Regions from separate parts of the Homo sapiens genome. Here regions 1, 2, 4 and 5 are each linked to region 3. Evidence: promoter capture Hi-C in 16 types of primary human blood cells and fetal thymus (Javierre and others, 2016). All regions are on one chromosome and are shown on one strand. The core of a region is centred on a gene start or on the middle of the fragment in contact, and the rest is flanking DNA. Distances in the headings are between cores, read along the strand shown. Region 1 overlaps OGT (O-linked N-acetylglucosamine (GlcNAc) transferase). Region 2 has its middle 27 kb from the start of TAF1. Region 3 holds the start of SNX12 (sorting nexin 12). Region 4 has its middle 4.6 kb from the start of OGT. Region 5 overlaps TAF1 (TATA-box binding protein associated factor 1).

Region 1 (2,700 bases), core at 111-2,610, 480 kb after region 3:
CCAACTAATCTCATTAAACAAATATTCTCCATGGGCCTGTCTAGTAGATTAATGGATCTGGTTGGCCGTTTGCTGCGTCTAGGGGTGTTCTATGTAGCGCAGCAGTTCGCAGCGATTGCGCAGTGCGATGCTGTTAGGTTGCGCAAGCGATGTTTGCGCTCGCATTACAGGGACCTCAACCTAGGTGCAATCCTGTCATGTGAGGTTTCAGCTTCAGTCCTCCTTGGGAGACGGGGCATTGTGAGAATGTAACTTAAAGCCTGGCTTTATGATATCCTACTTGGCAGAAAGACATTTTTCTCCTCAGTAGCATAGTTTTGATGTTAGTGAGGAACATTGTTGAAGAGCAGCATTTCCCAAAATGTGTTTCATAGTATTCTAATAAAATGCCCAATGAAAGAAGAGTTCCATGGTCAACTAAGTTCAGGGAACCCTGTTACACTATTAAAGGCTTAGGGAAGTCCAGTAAAGAAACCTATTTTCCGAATTTATTTGATCATGAACTCCTTTTTTTTTCAGCCATACCTCTTAACACCTCATAGAACACACTTTGGGAAACAGTGGGGGTAGGAAAACTCGGCCTCAAGTTGCGCCCTCTAGGTAGCACTTGAAAACATGACAAGGGCCCGTAGTTGTTTGGATAAGAGAACTCCAGCATAGAGCCTTATAGCAACTGACTTCCCAGTTAAGTCCCAGTGTAAGGGTTGGTCTTTGGTTGGCAGAACTGAACATGGTGGTTTGCACTTGGGTTCTGGTGGCGCAGGCGCAGGAGCAGCCAGCTGTGGCAGCGCATTAGTTTTGGCGCAAGCGAGCCTATGCTGCAGGGTCACTTTTGGCTGGTCAGAGAAGGAATAATGATATCACCTTCTTCCCCCCCTCCCCCCAATCTTTTTTTTTTCCCTTTACAAATTTTCCCCTTTCCCTTTACCTCCTTTCCCTCCCATCTTCTTTCATTAACCCCTCCTAAGGCATGTTATTTGAAAGCAATTGAGACGCAACCGAACTTTGCAGTAGCTTGGAGTAATCTTGGCTGTGTTTTCAATGCACAAGGGGAAATTTGGCTTGCAATTCATCACTTTGAAAAGGTTAGTCATTAAATTAATAATTGGTATTTTTGAAGTGCTTACGCATGTAGTGTTTTTACTAGAACTAAATAATAGGTCTTAGCCAGTGACATTATATCTTTGTTTCTCTGGCGGTATAGGCAGTATGTGACTTACAGAGAACAATGATTTGACTTAAATATTTTTTCAACTTGACAATGGTGCAAAAGACATACATATTCAATAGAAATCATACTTCGAGTACCCATGCAGCCATTCTGGTTTTCCCTTTCAGTACAAGATTCAGTAAATTACATGAGATGCCCAACACACTATTATAAAATAAGAAGGAGGCTGAGGCAGGAGGATCACTTGAGCCCAGGAGTTTGAGGCTGCAGTGAGCTGTGACCATGCCACTGTACTTAGCCTGAGTGACAGAGTGAGACCCTGTCTCTAAGATTAAAAAATAAAAAGGTACCATAAAGACACATGCATGCGTATGTTCATCACTTCACAATAGCAAAGACATGGAATCAACCTAGATGCCCATCAACGGTGGGCTAAAGAAAATGTACATATATGCCATGGAATACCATGTAGCCATCAAAAATGAAATCATGTCCTTTGCAGCAACATGGATGCAGCTGGAGTTTATTATCTTAAGTGAATTAATGCAGGAACAGAAAACCAAATATTGCATGTTCTCACAAGTGGGAGCTAAGCATTGGGTACACATGGACACAAAGGGGAACAATAGACAGTGGGGCTTACTTGAGGGTGGAGGGTGGGAGGAGTGTGAGGGTACAAAAACTACTTACCAGGTACTATGTTCACTACCTGAGTGACAAAATCATTTGTATACCAAATTGCTGTGACACAATTTACCCATTTAACAAACCTGCATGTGTACCCCAAACCTAAAATAAATGTTGGAATTAAAATAAAACTCATATTAAAGTTTTAAAAAAGGGCTTTGTATTAGGTAATTTTACCTAAACGTAGGCTAATGTGTTCTGAGCATGTTTAAAATGAGACTAGCCGGGCCAGGTGTGATAGCTCACATCTGTGATCCCAGTGCTTTGGGAGGCCGAGGCGGGCAGATTGCTTGAGCTTAGGAGTTGAAAACCAGCCTGGACAACATAACGAGACCCTGTCTCTACAAAAATGAGCTGGGTGTGGCAGTGTGCTCCTGTAGTCCCAGCCATTTGTAGGGCTGAGGTGGGAGGATTGCTTGGGCCTGGGAGCTGGAGGTTGCAGTGAACCAAGATTGCACCACTGCACTCCAGCCTGGGTGACAAAGTGAGGCCCTGTCTCAAAAAAAAAAAAAAAAAAAAAAAAAAAATTAGGCTAAGCTAGGATGTTCACTAAGTGTTACAGATGCATTTTGACTTAAGATATTTTCAACTTATGATGGGTGTATCGGGACATAACCCCATCCTAAGTTGAGAAACATCTTTATTGCAGCATTTGCTGGATAGTACATGGTATGGCAGTTTCCAATTTTGTGTTGAAAATGTACTTTAGGCTGCGTGCTGTGGCTCACACCTGTAATCCAGCACTTTGCGAGGCTGAGGTGGGAGGATTGCTTGAGCCTAGTAGTTTGAGACCAGCCTGGGCAACATAGTAAGACCCTGTCTCTACAAAAAATACAAAAAGT
Region 2 (2,700 bases), core at 55-2,554, 270 kb after region 3:
GGGTATTGAGGTCTCCAACTATTATTGTAGAAGTATTTTTCCCCTTCATTTCTGTCAATTTTTGGCTTATATATTTTGGAACTCTGTTATTAGGTGCTGCTATGATTTGGTCCCCACCAACACTCATGTTGAAATTTGATCATCAGTGTGGCCATGTTGGGAGGTGGGGCCTAGTGTTTGGCTCATGGAGGGGGATGGAGATCCCTCTTGAATGGCTTAGTATCATTCTTATGGTAGTGAGTGAGTTCCTGCTCTGGTGAGACTGGATTAGTTCTTGCTGGAATGGATTAATTTCCATGAAAATGGATTGTTATAAAATCAGGATGCCCCTCAACTTTTGTTTGTTCACAGGTGTCTGTTTCCACTTTGACCTTCTCTGCCATGTTATGATGTAGCATGAAACCCCTTGCCAGAAGCCAGGGCCATGCCCTTAAACTTCCCAGCCTACAAAACTGTGAGCTAAATACCTTTTTTGTTTATAAATTACTCAGTCTTGAGTATTCTGTTATAGCAACTCAAAATGGACTAAGACAGGTGTATACATGTTTATAATTGTTATATCTTCTTGCTGTATAAACCTTTTATCAATATTTAATGTCCTTTGTCTAAACTTTTTTGGTGTAAAGCCTATTTTGTCTGACAATAATGTAGTCACCACAGCTCTCTTTTGATTACTATTTGCATGCAGTATCTTTCCCAATCTTTTTACTTTCAATCTCTTTGTGTCCTTATATCTAACATGAGACTCTTATGGACAGTATATAGATGGATCTTTTTAAAAATCTAACCTGCTAATTTCTGCCTTTTACTAGGAGAGTTTAATCCATGTATACATAATGTGAATACTGATAAAGAGGGATTTACTTTTGCCATTTATCTATTTGTTTCTTTTTTTTTTTTTGAGATGGAGTCTCGCTCTGTCACCCAGGCTGGAGTGCAGTGGTGTGGTCTCGGCTCACTGCAAGCTCCACCTCCTGGGTTCACGCCATTCTCCTGCCTCAGCCTCCCGAGTAGCTGGGACCACAGGCACCCGCCACCACGCCCGGCTAATTTTTTGTATTTTTAGTAGAGATGGGGTTTCACCATGTTAGTCAGGATGGTCTCTATCTCCTGACCTCGTGATCCGCCCGCCTCAGCCTCCCAAAGTGCTGGGATTACAGGTGTGAGCCACCGTGCCCGGCCATCTATTTGTTTCTTTATGTCTTGTATGGGTTTCGTTCCTCAGTTCTTCCATTACTGCCTTTTAAAAATTTAGTTGTTTTTTTGGTGGTGTACCATTTTGATTCCCTTCTTCTTTCCTTCTCTATATGTTAAGGTTTTTTTCTTAGTGGTATTTCCAGTCTAGTGGCTCACACTCAATAATCTCAGCACTTTGGGAGGCTGAGGTGGGAGAATCAATTGAGGCCAGCAGTTTAAGACCAGCCTGGGCAATATCATAGTGAGACCTGTCTCTAAAAAAAAAAAAAAAAATATCCCTTTGTCTTTGGCTTTCAACAATTTGACTGTAATGTGTCTTGATGTGGATCTCTTTGTTTATCCTGCTTGGAGTTTAACTGTTGAACATGTATATTCGTGTCTTTTCTCAGATTTGAGAAGTTTTTGGCCATTATTTCTTCGAGTATTTTTTCTGGCTAGGTGTGGTGGTTCATGCCTATAATCCCAACACTTTGGGAGGCCAATGCAGGAGGATTGCTTGAGGTCAGGAATTCAAGACCAGCCTGGCCAACATAGTAAGGCCCTATCCCTACAAAAAATTTAAAAATTATGGCCGGGCATGGTGGCTCATGCTTGTAATCACAGCACTTTGGGAGGCTGAGGCAGGTGGATCACCTGAGGTCAGGAGTTCACGACCAGCCTGGCCAACATGGTAAAACCCCGTCTCTACTAAAAATACACACACACACAAAAATTATCCGGGCGTAGTGGCAGGTGCCTGTAATCACAGCTGCTCAGGAGGCTGAGGTAGGAGAATTGCTTGAACCTGGGAGGCGGAGGTTGCAGTGAGCCAAGATTGTGCCATTGCACTCCAGCCTGGGTAACAAGAGCAAAACTCCATCTCAAAAAAAAAAAAAAATTAAAAAATTAGATATGGTGGCATATGCCTGTAGTCCCAGCTACTCAGGAGGCTGAGGCAGGAGGATCATTTTGAGCCACGGAGTTCGAGGCTGCAGTGAGCTATGATTGCACCACCACACTCCAGCCTGGGTGACAGAGTGAGACCCTGTCTCTAAAACTATATACATACACCTTCCTTCTTTTGAAACTGTATACCTATATACATATACCTATCTTCTTTTGAAACTATATACGTATATATAGTTTTAGATATAATTAAATATATGTATATATATTTCTTTTTTTTTTTTCTTTTTGAGATGGAGTCTCACTCTGTCACCCAGGCTGGAGTGCAGTGGCATGATCTCGGCTCACTGCAACCTCCGCCCTCCAAATTCAAGCGATTCTCCTGCCTCAGCCTCCCAAGTAGCTGGGATTACAGGCGCCTGCCACCGTGCCCAGCTAATTTTTTGTATTTTTAGTAGAGACAGGGTTTCACCATCTTGGCCAGGCTGGTCTTGAACTCCTGACCTCGTGATCCACCCGCCTTGGCCTCCCAAAGTGCTGGGATTGTAGGCACGAGCCACCACGCCCGCCCTGTATATGTATATTTCTATACATACAAATAAATATTTGTATATGTAT
Region 3 (2,700 bases), core at 84-2,583:
CATACACTCTTTTAGTTCTTCAATGCTGTTTGAGCAGGATGCTGTCCACAGAGAATATTCTGGCCTTTTAGTCTGAGAAGAAAACATAAGGAAAACTAGAAAATGATTCTCAAACTGTTTTGCCTATAACCACTTCAAGTGGGCAAAAGATCCTGCAAACCAAGTACTCTATCTGCACATTCCATCCTTGCATTATGGGCTAAGCACTAGAGAGTAAAGTCCTCTATCATGCATGCTGGAAGAAGCCACTCCTGGGCAATTCTGAAATGTCATGTATTAAAGTAACTACAGACCAGGGTCAGAATCCAAAAGGGTAATCTAGGACAGAAAGGGCAAAAAGCCATTCATATACAAAGTACCTAAACGAGAGTCAATAAATACTGAAATAAACATTCTGGATACTTCAAATCTAAAGGATCCACATAGAATGAAAGCAGTGACTGACAAGGCACCAATCCCAGGGCCAGGCCAGGTTTCAAGGCGAGACAGCACGTAGTATCTGCGAAAACTTAAGCATAAAACATTTCTCTCCTTCAGATGCTGATCCGACACAAGTTAGGAAAGCGCTCGGTCTCAAGGAGACTCCCTTTCTTATTTCTGCTCCCACAAGCCTACTGTCTGCCTTTTCTGGAATCTACCTTCCCTTTAATTCAAGGCTTTGCTTTACTCCATTATCCCAGGGAGACCTCATTAGAAAGCAGCCGGCCTTCCTGCCCTCCCTCTTCAGACTTCTCACAACCTAGTTTAGTTATGGAGCTCAGCGATATATCGCCTTGGCTTTCCATCCCCCAGCCCTCTTCCATCCTCCCTCCCTTCCTTCAGTCGCTACAGCCGTGATTCCTATCTCCTTGAATTCCTCACTCTAATCTTTTTCCATCCACCCCACCCTATCCAGCCATGCTTCACTTCCTCATGGGTAGCTTTCCTGCATCCCCGTCCGATGTCTCCCTCAGGAGTTTTCTGCATCCTCCGGCCACAACTGAATCGGCAGACCTCGTTCCAAGCCTATTATACCCCTAACCCCCAAATGACCCCTAAGGCGTCTTCCCCGCCGTTAGTTGCCCCCGCGGTAGCCTCCCTCCCCCCTCCCGCTCGCGCCGCCCGGTCCTCCCTCAGCTGTCTCCCTCACCCCGTGACTCACCCGCATGCGAACCTCATAGGTGGTGAAGCGCGCGCGTCCCACGCCCACCGTCTGAGGATTAAAGATGTCGATCTCCAGGAAGTTACTTGGCGGCCCGTAAGCGTCGGTCAGGTCCTGCGGCTTCGAGTTAAGGCGCCGGGTATCAGCTACTGCCGTGTCCGACATCTTTCCGAAGGAGAGCCTGGGACCGGGGAAAGGGGGTGGGGGACAGAGGCCTGAGGCAGGAGCGCGCACGGCCCCTCCCGCTTGCAAAATAACTAGCCAACCCACAGGCGGCGGCGGCGCGCACGCGCGCCCACGCACGCACGCGCACGCCGCACGGGCCTGGGCCCCGGGCTCTGAATAGCGGCCGTGCTGACTGCTGCGCGCCCTGTAGAGTGGAGGCCATATTCAGGCTTCCGGGTGATGTTTGTGGCCACCCGGGAACCTGCATCCCCAATACGCAGTACCCAATACCCTGCCTAGCAGCACAGGCTGGCTCCGCCAATCGCGGCTCCTCAACCCAAGAAATTGTCTCGTACCGTGTATCAATCAACAGTGGGCACTGCCCCGTGAGCCAGGCTCCTACAGTGATAGGCCGAAGCCCAGTGACCTGAATAAGTCCTGGTTTTCCGCGAAAATAGAAGGGTGGTCTATGGAGGGTGGGGTTCCAACAATAGTACTGAGAACCTATAACGTAGCCGTCCCACCTGTGCCACTGATGGTTTCAGTTCACGCCACACACAATGGCGCACTCAGCACTACGTATGGCGCCAGGAAAGCAGCAAGCAACTAGGATGGGGTAAAGAAAGACATTTCTCTCTTACTTTTCAGGAAAATTGGGCATATCTTACTCCTTGTTGCCACACTCCAGGTGTACTCAATCTTACATTTATCAGCAAATTGAGGGTACTTATTTCATACCTTCTATTTCTACTCCGCAGAACTCCATACTTGGCACTGCTCTGAGGTTGCTTGCAACCCATAATGGAGATAGAATAAATGTTTACATGAGAATATCTATAGAAATATTAATATTTATATGACTAATTTACATATGCTCCACATTAAAGGGTAGACTGGGTGATGATTTCAGGTCATCCTTTCTCCACCTTTCCCCTGCCCTCCTCTACTCAAAAAATATTTCCCATATCACTGATGCCTGAAATTCTTTCAACAGAGTATGAGGCCCTACAATTTCACAATTGCTGTTTAATTCAATTTAACCAATATCCACTAAGCAAATACGTGCCAAGCACCATGCTAAACACTAAAATCCTGGAGTTAAATAAGAGTCCCTGCCCTCAAGGAGTTAACATTCTAGCAAGGGAGACAAGTAAACAAAACTAATATAATGCGACAAATACAAAATAAGTAAATGTTCAAAGCAGCACATAGGAAATGTATAACTGGAAAAATTAGGGGAGGTTCCCCTGGAGGAGGAAACATCTGAGTTTAACAGACATGAAAAGACATAAAGGACAAATAGGAGTGGAAATAGGGAAAGGTAATTTCTGGAATAAGAAACAGCATATGCAGGCCGGGCGCGGTGGCTCACACCTGTAATCCCAGCACTTTGG
Region 4 (2,700 bases), core at 52-2,551, 460 kb after region 3:
ACTTTGAGACCAGCTTGGCCAACATAGCGAAACCCCGTCTCTACTAAAAATACAAAAATTAGCTGGGTGTGGTGGCACGTGCCTGTAATCCCAGCTACTCGGGAGTCTGAGGCAGGAGAATTGCTTGAACCTGAGAGGCGGAGGTTGCAGCAAGGTGAGATCGTGCCACTGCACTCCAACCTGGGCAACAGGAGCCAAACTCCGTCTCAAAAAAAAAAAAAAAAAAGAAAAGAAAAATTTCATTCAACTTTACTTTACTTGGGATTGAATACATATGAAATGTGCTTTCAATACATAAAAATCATAGTGGACAGCAGCAAAGGAGTGGGAGTAGCAGTGGAGGAGGAGTTGCGGCAGATTAAGGAGAATCTGAGAATTCCTATTGTAATTATTTTGGAAATTGATAAAGATAATTCACACTTCTAAGAACTCAAGACTTTACTTTTTAAAGGACCAAAATAAACTCAAGACACCTTGCCAACACTTCCCCACCTCTCAACAAATTGATTACTCTTTTACACATAAAACTGAAACAGTTATGGCATCAAAATTGATAGCAACGAAAGTTTGTAAAACTGTATTTCAGTCTCTTTTTCTTGATTCCAAAGTGCAAGATGCAGGGTTTTCATAATCCTTTAGCAATGCTTCTCCTGTAAATAAGCCTTCATTTTGTTTGGCAAAGGCAGTTTTTGAAATAAGTCTATTCTGGTATGCTGACATAAAACAAATGTCATGGGTGCTGCAAAGAACAAAACTGTATGAATTGTAGTATTGGATTGGTCAGTCTTACAGGGTAAATTGCAGATCCAGGTAACCGAGACCTTCAATAAGAAAAAACTCTATTTTCCAGAGTCCCTGGTTGAATGTTCAATTAGATCAACTAATTGTCCTTTCACATCTGGTTGCTCATAAAAGCAAAACCTACCATTCGAGTGTTCAATTCTAGTGTGAAGTGTTTTACCATGGGAGCAAAAGCTTGAGCTTGAAAGATAACAGTCATTATGGCTATCTGGGACAAGAAAAAAACCATCTAGCACATTTGCTCACTTTTCTTCTGCCTGTCAGTGTATGATTGCCCCCAGCACCATTATTATTTTGCAGGTTTTTTCAGCTCCTCTGTAAGGCTTGTCACAACCATAGTGTCACTACTTTGGACAGAATCATCAACTCTTGCAACCCCAGGAGGACAGTCAGGATTAGAATTCAAATGACAGTGGGTACTTTCAGACACACACATAGACAACTGCACCTGTGAGTCCACAGAAGTTCCTTTAGATTCTGTATTGGAGGTAGTAATGATGAAAGTGTCTTCAGGAATGTCTTCATGGCTTGCTCTTGGGCTCTGCATTGTAACTCCTTACAGGTACCAATGAACAAGCCATTCAGAGATGGATCCACAAAGATCTCTGGAGCAACGACCAGGTCCTGCTCTACCCGATTCTCAGCTTTGGGGATAGAATTCCCAGAAACATCTGTGTCCGGAGTTGGTTCCTTCCAGTGGGTTCTTGGTCTTGCTGACTTCAAGAATGAAGCCGTGGACCTTCGCGGTGAGTGTTACAGCTCTTTAAAGGTAGCACAGACCCAAAGAGTGAGCGGCAGCAAGATTTATTGTGAAGAGCAAAAGAACAAAGCTTCCATAGCGTGAAAGGGTACCCAAGCAGGTTGCCAGTGGGGCTGGGGGCGGCCAGCATTTATTCCTTTATTTGTCCCCGCCCACATCCTGCTGATTGGTCCATTTTACAGAGTGCTGATTGGTCCATTTTACAGAGTGCTCTTTGGTGTTTTTACAATTCTTTAGCTAGACACAGAGCGCTAATTGGTGCATTTTACAGAGTGCTGATTGGTGCATTTACAATCCTTTAGCTAGAAACAGAGCGCTGATTGGTGCGTTTTGTTTTTGTTTTTTTTTTTGAGACAGAGTCTCGCTCTGTCGCCCAGGCTGGAGTGCAGTGGTGCAATCTCAGCTCACTGCAACCTCCGCCTCCTGGGTTCATGCCATTCTCATGCCTCAGCCTCCCAAGTAGCTGGGACTACAGGTGCCCGCCACCACGCCTGACTAATTTTTTGTATTTTTAGTAGAGACGGGGTTTCACCATGTTAGCCAGGATGGTCTCCATCTCCTGACCTCATGATCTGCCTGCTTCAGCCTCCCAAAGTGCTGGGATTACAGGTGTGAGCCACTGCACCTGGCTGGTGCATTTTTACAGAGTGCTGATTGGTGCATTTACAATCCTTTAGCTAAACACAGAGTGCTGATTGGTGCGTTTTACAATCTTCTTGTAAGACACAAAAGTTCTCCAAGTCCCCACCCAACCCAGAAGTCCAGCTGGCTTCACCACTCACTTCCATGGGAGAACTGTCCAGACAATAGCATGACACCCTTGCAAAGGATAAAGCCTCTCATCTAAAGGCATAGAATACTGAATATAGTCTTGAGGCATAAGTCCAATAAGTACAGGCACATGTTCCTTGAAGTGAAGATGCAAGTCTCCATTCTGAAATTTTGAACTCTTTACTTTGTTCTTTGTATGCAGCTTCAGGCTGAAGATAGTGAAAATCCGTGCCAGACTTGGATTGGAAGAATGAACCAAGGCTTTGAGTCTCTTCGTCTCATCTCCGTTTTGATACGTGTCTCCTTAGTTTGTAAGCCAAGGAGAGGACTACAGTGAGGATTGTGGAGGGAAGTGGACCTTATTGGTC
Region 5 (2,700 bases), core at 134-2,633, 320 kb after region 3:
GCCTGGCCAACATGGTGAAACCCTGACTCTACTAAAAATACAAAATGAGCCGGGCGTGGTGGCGTGCGCCTGTAATCCCAGCTACTTGGGAGGCTGAGGCAGGAGAATCACTTGAACCTGGGAGGTGGAGGTTGCCGGGAGCTGAGACCACGCCATTGTAGTCCAGCCTGGACTAAAAGAACGAATCTCCATCTCAAAAAAAAAAAAGAAAGAAAGAAATGGGATCTTACTGTGTTGCCCAGGCTGATTTTGAACTCCTAGGCTCAAACGATCGTCCTGCCTTGGCCTTCTAAAGTGTTGGGATGATAGGCATGAACCACTGTGCCTGGCCTCTACTTTCTTCCCGTGGCACTGATCACATAGTACTGAACTTGGTTGGCTGTTTTTCCCTCACTAACTTGAGGTTCATGAAAAAGTAGTATGGAGGAGTAGTGTGTAGTTGGTATTCAATAAATATTTGTTAAATGAATTAAGTGATTATAAAATGAAGCAGAAAATGAGGCCACACAGAGTGAGTAAAGAATCGTTGTACTACTCTCTTGAGGTTGGAATGAAAAATGAGTGGATATCTAAGAATTTCAGAAATTAAGAATTCTTTTGAGGCCAGGCGCAGTGGCTCAGGCCTGTAATCATAGCATTTGGGGAGGCCAAGGTGGGAGGGTTACTTGAGGCCAAGGGTTCAAGACCAACCTGGCCAACATAGTGAGACCCTGTCTCTAAAAAAGAAAAACAATTTTTTTTAAATTAAAAATAAAAAAAGAATTCTGTTGAATGGCTTTCCAGATTGAACCTTAGAGAATGGCCATTTTCTTGCTAATCATATATACTCTTTTTTTTTTTTTTTTTGAGACAGAGTCTCACTCTGTCTCCCAGGCTGGAGTGCAGTGGTGCAGTCTGCTGACTGCAACCTCTGCCTGCTGGGTTCAAGCCATTCTCGTGCCTCAGCCTTCTGAGTAGCTGGGACTATAGGTGTGCGCCACCACGCCTGGCTAATTTTTGTACTTTTAGTAGAGATGGGGTTTCACCATGTTGGCCAGGCTGGTCTTGAACTCCTGGCCTCAAGAGATCTGCCCGCCTCAGCCTCCCAGAGTGTTGGGATTACAGGTGTGAGTCACCACACCTGGCCTCATGTACTCCTGACTGGTCTGTGTGGGCAGGCACATTCACCCCTTGGCTTAATTCTTTAAGAATCTTGCAGGGGTTGGTAAACACTATTCAGGGTCCCAGGAGAGGACAGACCTTTTTGACCAAACCAGTGGCAGAAATAGAATGGACTTTGGTTTAGTGTCACTGGAAAAGGGGCCAATGCTTTGAAAGCAAGCATGTCAAGTATTTCGAGAAAATAGGTTTCATTCTAAAACAGCTGTTTGAGCAATTGGACAATCAAATGTAGTCATTAGTCTAATTTTGAGCATCATGAGGGTGAGGGAAACACTGTCCTTAAGAATGTTTATTGAAGCCCAAGGGATAAGGGGCTGAAGGGATACCACTGTTCTTTATTTTTCTCCTTATCCTGCCTGAGCTCTTGACCTCTATTTAATATCATGTTGTAAGTATTGTACCATAGGATAGAAGAGAACTGAGTACTAGGTAGCTATATTTAACTGTTGATTTTTGTGGACAGTTTAAGAGAGCATGAACCCACAGAAATTAAAAATTAGAAAAAAAGAACATGAAAATAGTTTGTAATTATTCTACTCTTGTAGATATTGGCTAGACATAGAACAAATGTTTCCCACTGCCCTGAGAATCTTTTTCTTTATCTCAGGTTCGCACTGCCCCTTGGAACACCACAAGGGCCTTCATTGCTGCCATGAAGGGCAAGTGTCTGCTAGAGGTGACTGGGGTGGCAGATCCCACGGGGTGTGGTGAAGGATTCTCCTATGTGAAGATTCCAAACAAACCAACACAGCAGAAGGTGAGATTGTGTTTATTTCTAGAATGAAAAAGTCAAGGGAGAAAGAAATGGGTGAGTGGAGGACTTGGAATGTAGTTAAGGTAGCAGAATGACTTAGATGCCTACTTAAAAGGAATTCAGGTTTTTAGGAGTCTCACTTTTTTTTGTTTGAGGTAGGATGATAAAGAACCGCAGCCAGTGAAGAAGACAGTGACAGGAACAGATGCAGACCTTCGTCGCCTTTCCCTGAAAAATGCCAAGCAACTTCTACGTAAATTTGGTGTGCCTGAGGAAGAGGTGAGTGTGGAAGTGGAAAATTTAGAGTATACTAGGGGCTTTGTATAGAGTTGGAATTGCTAGGAGGCAGATGTAAAGAACTATCTGGGGAACTTTATTGTAGGGTATAGTAAGCTAAGTCTTAGATATTGTTTTAGGAGTTATCTTTCTATGTAATCTGCTTTGGGGTGATTTTTCTTTTTTGGTCTAACTGTGTACATTGGCTTGTCCTTTGAAATCCCTGAATGATTTGTGTGTGTGTGTGTGTGTGTGTGTGTGTGTGTGTGTGTGTATATTTATATTTGTGTGTGGCTATTTGTCTCGTAGATTAAAAAGTTGTCCCGCTGGGAAGTGATTGATGTGGTGCGCACAATGTCAACAGAACAGGCTCGTTCTGGAGAGGGGCCCATGAGTAAATTTGCCCGTGGATCAAGGTTTTCTGTGGCTGAGCATCAAGAGCGTTACAAAGAGGAATGTCAGCGCATCTTTGACCTACAGAACAAGTGGGTCGTTTTAGTGCTGCAGAA

Evidence for each region. Contacts are between HindIII fragments. The CHiCAGO score rates a contact against its expected background, and 5 or more counts as called.
Region 1: a fragment that was not itself captured here is called in contact with the fragment with the promoter of SNX12 in region 3 in 3 of 17 cell types (neutrophils, naive B cells and total B cells); the score reaches 8.2 in neutrophils.
Region 2: a contact is called between a fragment that was not itself captured here and the fragment with the promoter of SNX12 in region 3, in 1 of 17 cell types (non-activated CD4 T cells). The highest score is 5.3, in non-activated CD4 T cells.
Region 4: a contact is called between a fragment that was not itself captured here and the fragment with the promoter of SNX12 in region 3, in 1 of 17 cell types (fetal thymus). The highest score is 5.9, in fetal thymus.
Region 5: a fragment that was not itself captured here is called in contact with the fragment with the promoter of SNX12 in region 3 in 2 of 17 cell types (non-activated CD4 T cells and naive B cells); the score reaches 5.4 in non-activated CD4 T cells.

Annotation. Positions count from the first base shown.
Region 1 is chrX:71,546,939-71,549,638 of GRCh38, forward strand. OGT (O-linked N-acetylglucosamine (GlcNAc) transferase) reads left to right here. Exons shown (of 22, transcript NM_181672.3): 5 at 969-1,085. Among named protein-coding and RNA genes, the nearest start is that of OGT, 15 kb to the left of the region's middle. The HindIII fragment of the contact is 3,213 bases long and covers 1-2,700 here.
Region 2 is chrX:71,337,960-71,340,659 of GRCh38, forward strand. No RefSeq gene overlaps it. Among named protein-coding and RNA genes, the nearest start is that of TAF1, 27 kb to the right of the region's middle. RefSeq lists an enhancer at 2,675-2,700. The HindIII fragment of the contact is 9,485 bases long and covers 1-2,700 here.
Region 3 is chrX:71,067,001-71,069,700 of GRCh38, forward strand. It overlaps SNX12 (sorting nexin 12), which reads right to left and starts at 1,334. Exons shown (of 4, transcript NM_013346.4): 1 at 1,142-1,334. The coding sequence starts at 1,306. RefSeq lists silencers at 1,297-1,490, 1,330-1,549. The HindIII fragment of the contact is 9,631 bases long and covers 1-2,700 here.
Region 4 is chrX:71,527,179-71,529,878 of GRCh38, forward strand. It overlaps a transcript of TAF1 not described here and the pseudogene SOCS6P1. Among named protein-coding and RNA genes, the nearest start is that of OGT, 4.6 kb to the right of the region's middle. The HindIII fragment of the contact is 656 bases long and covers 974-1,629 here.
Region 5 is chrX:71,390,801-71,393,500 of GRCh38, forward strand. TAF1 (TATA-box binding protein associated factor 1) reads left to right here. Exons shown (of 38, transcript NM_004606.5): 19 at 1,769-1,918; 20 at 2,075-2,194; 21 at 2,501-2,676. Among named protein-coding and RNA genes, the nearest start is that of TAF1, 26 kb to the left of the region's middle. The HindIII fragment of the contact is 3,497 bases long and covers 1-2,700 here.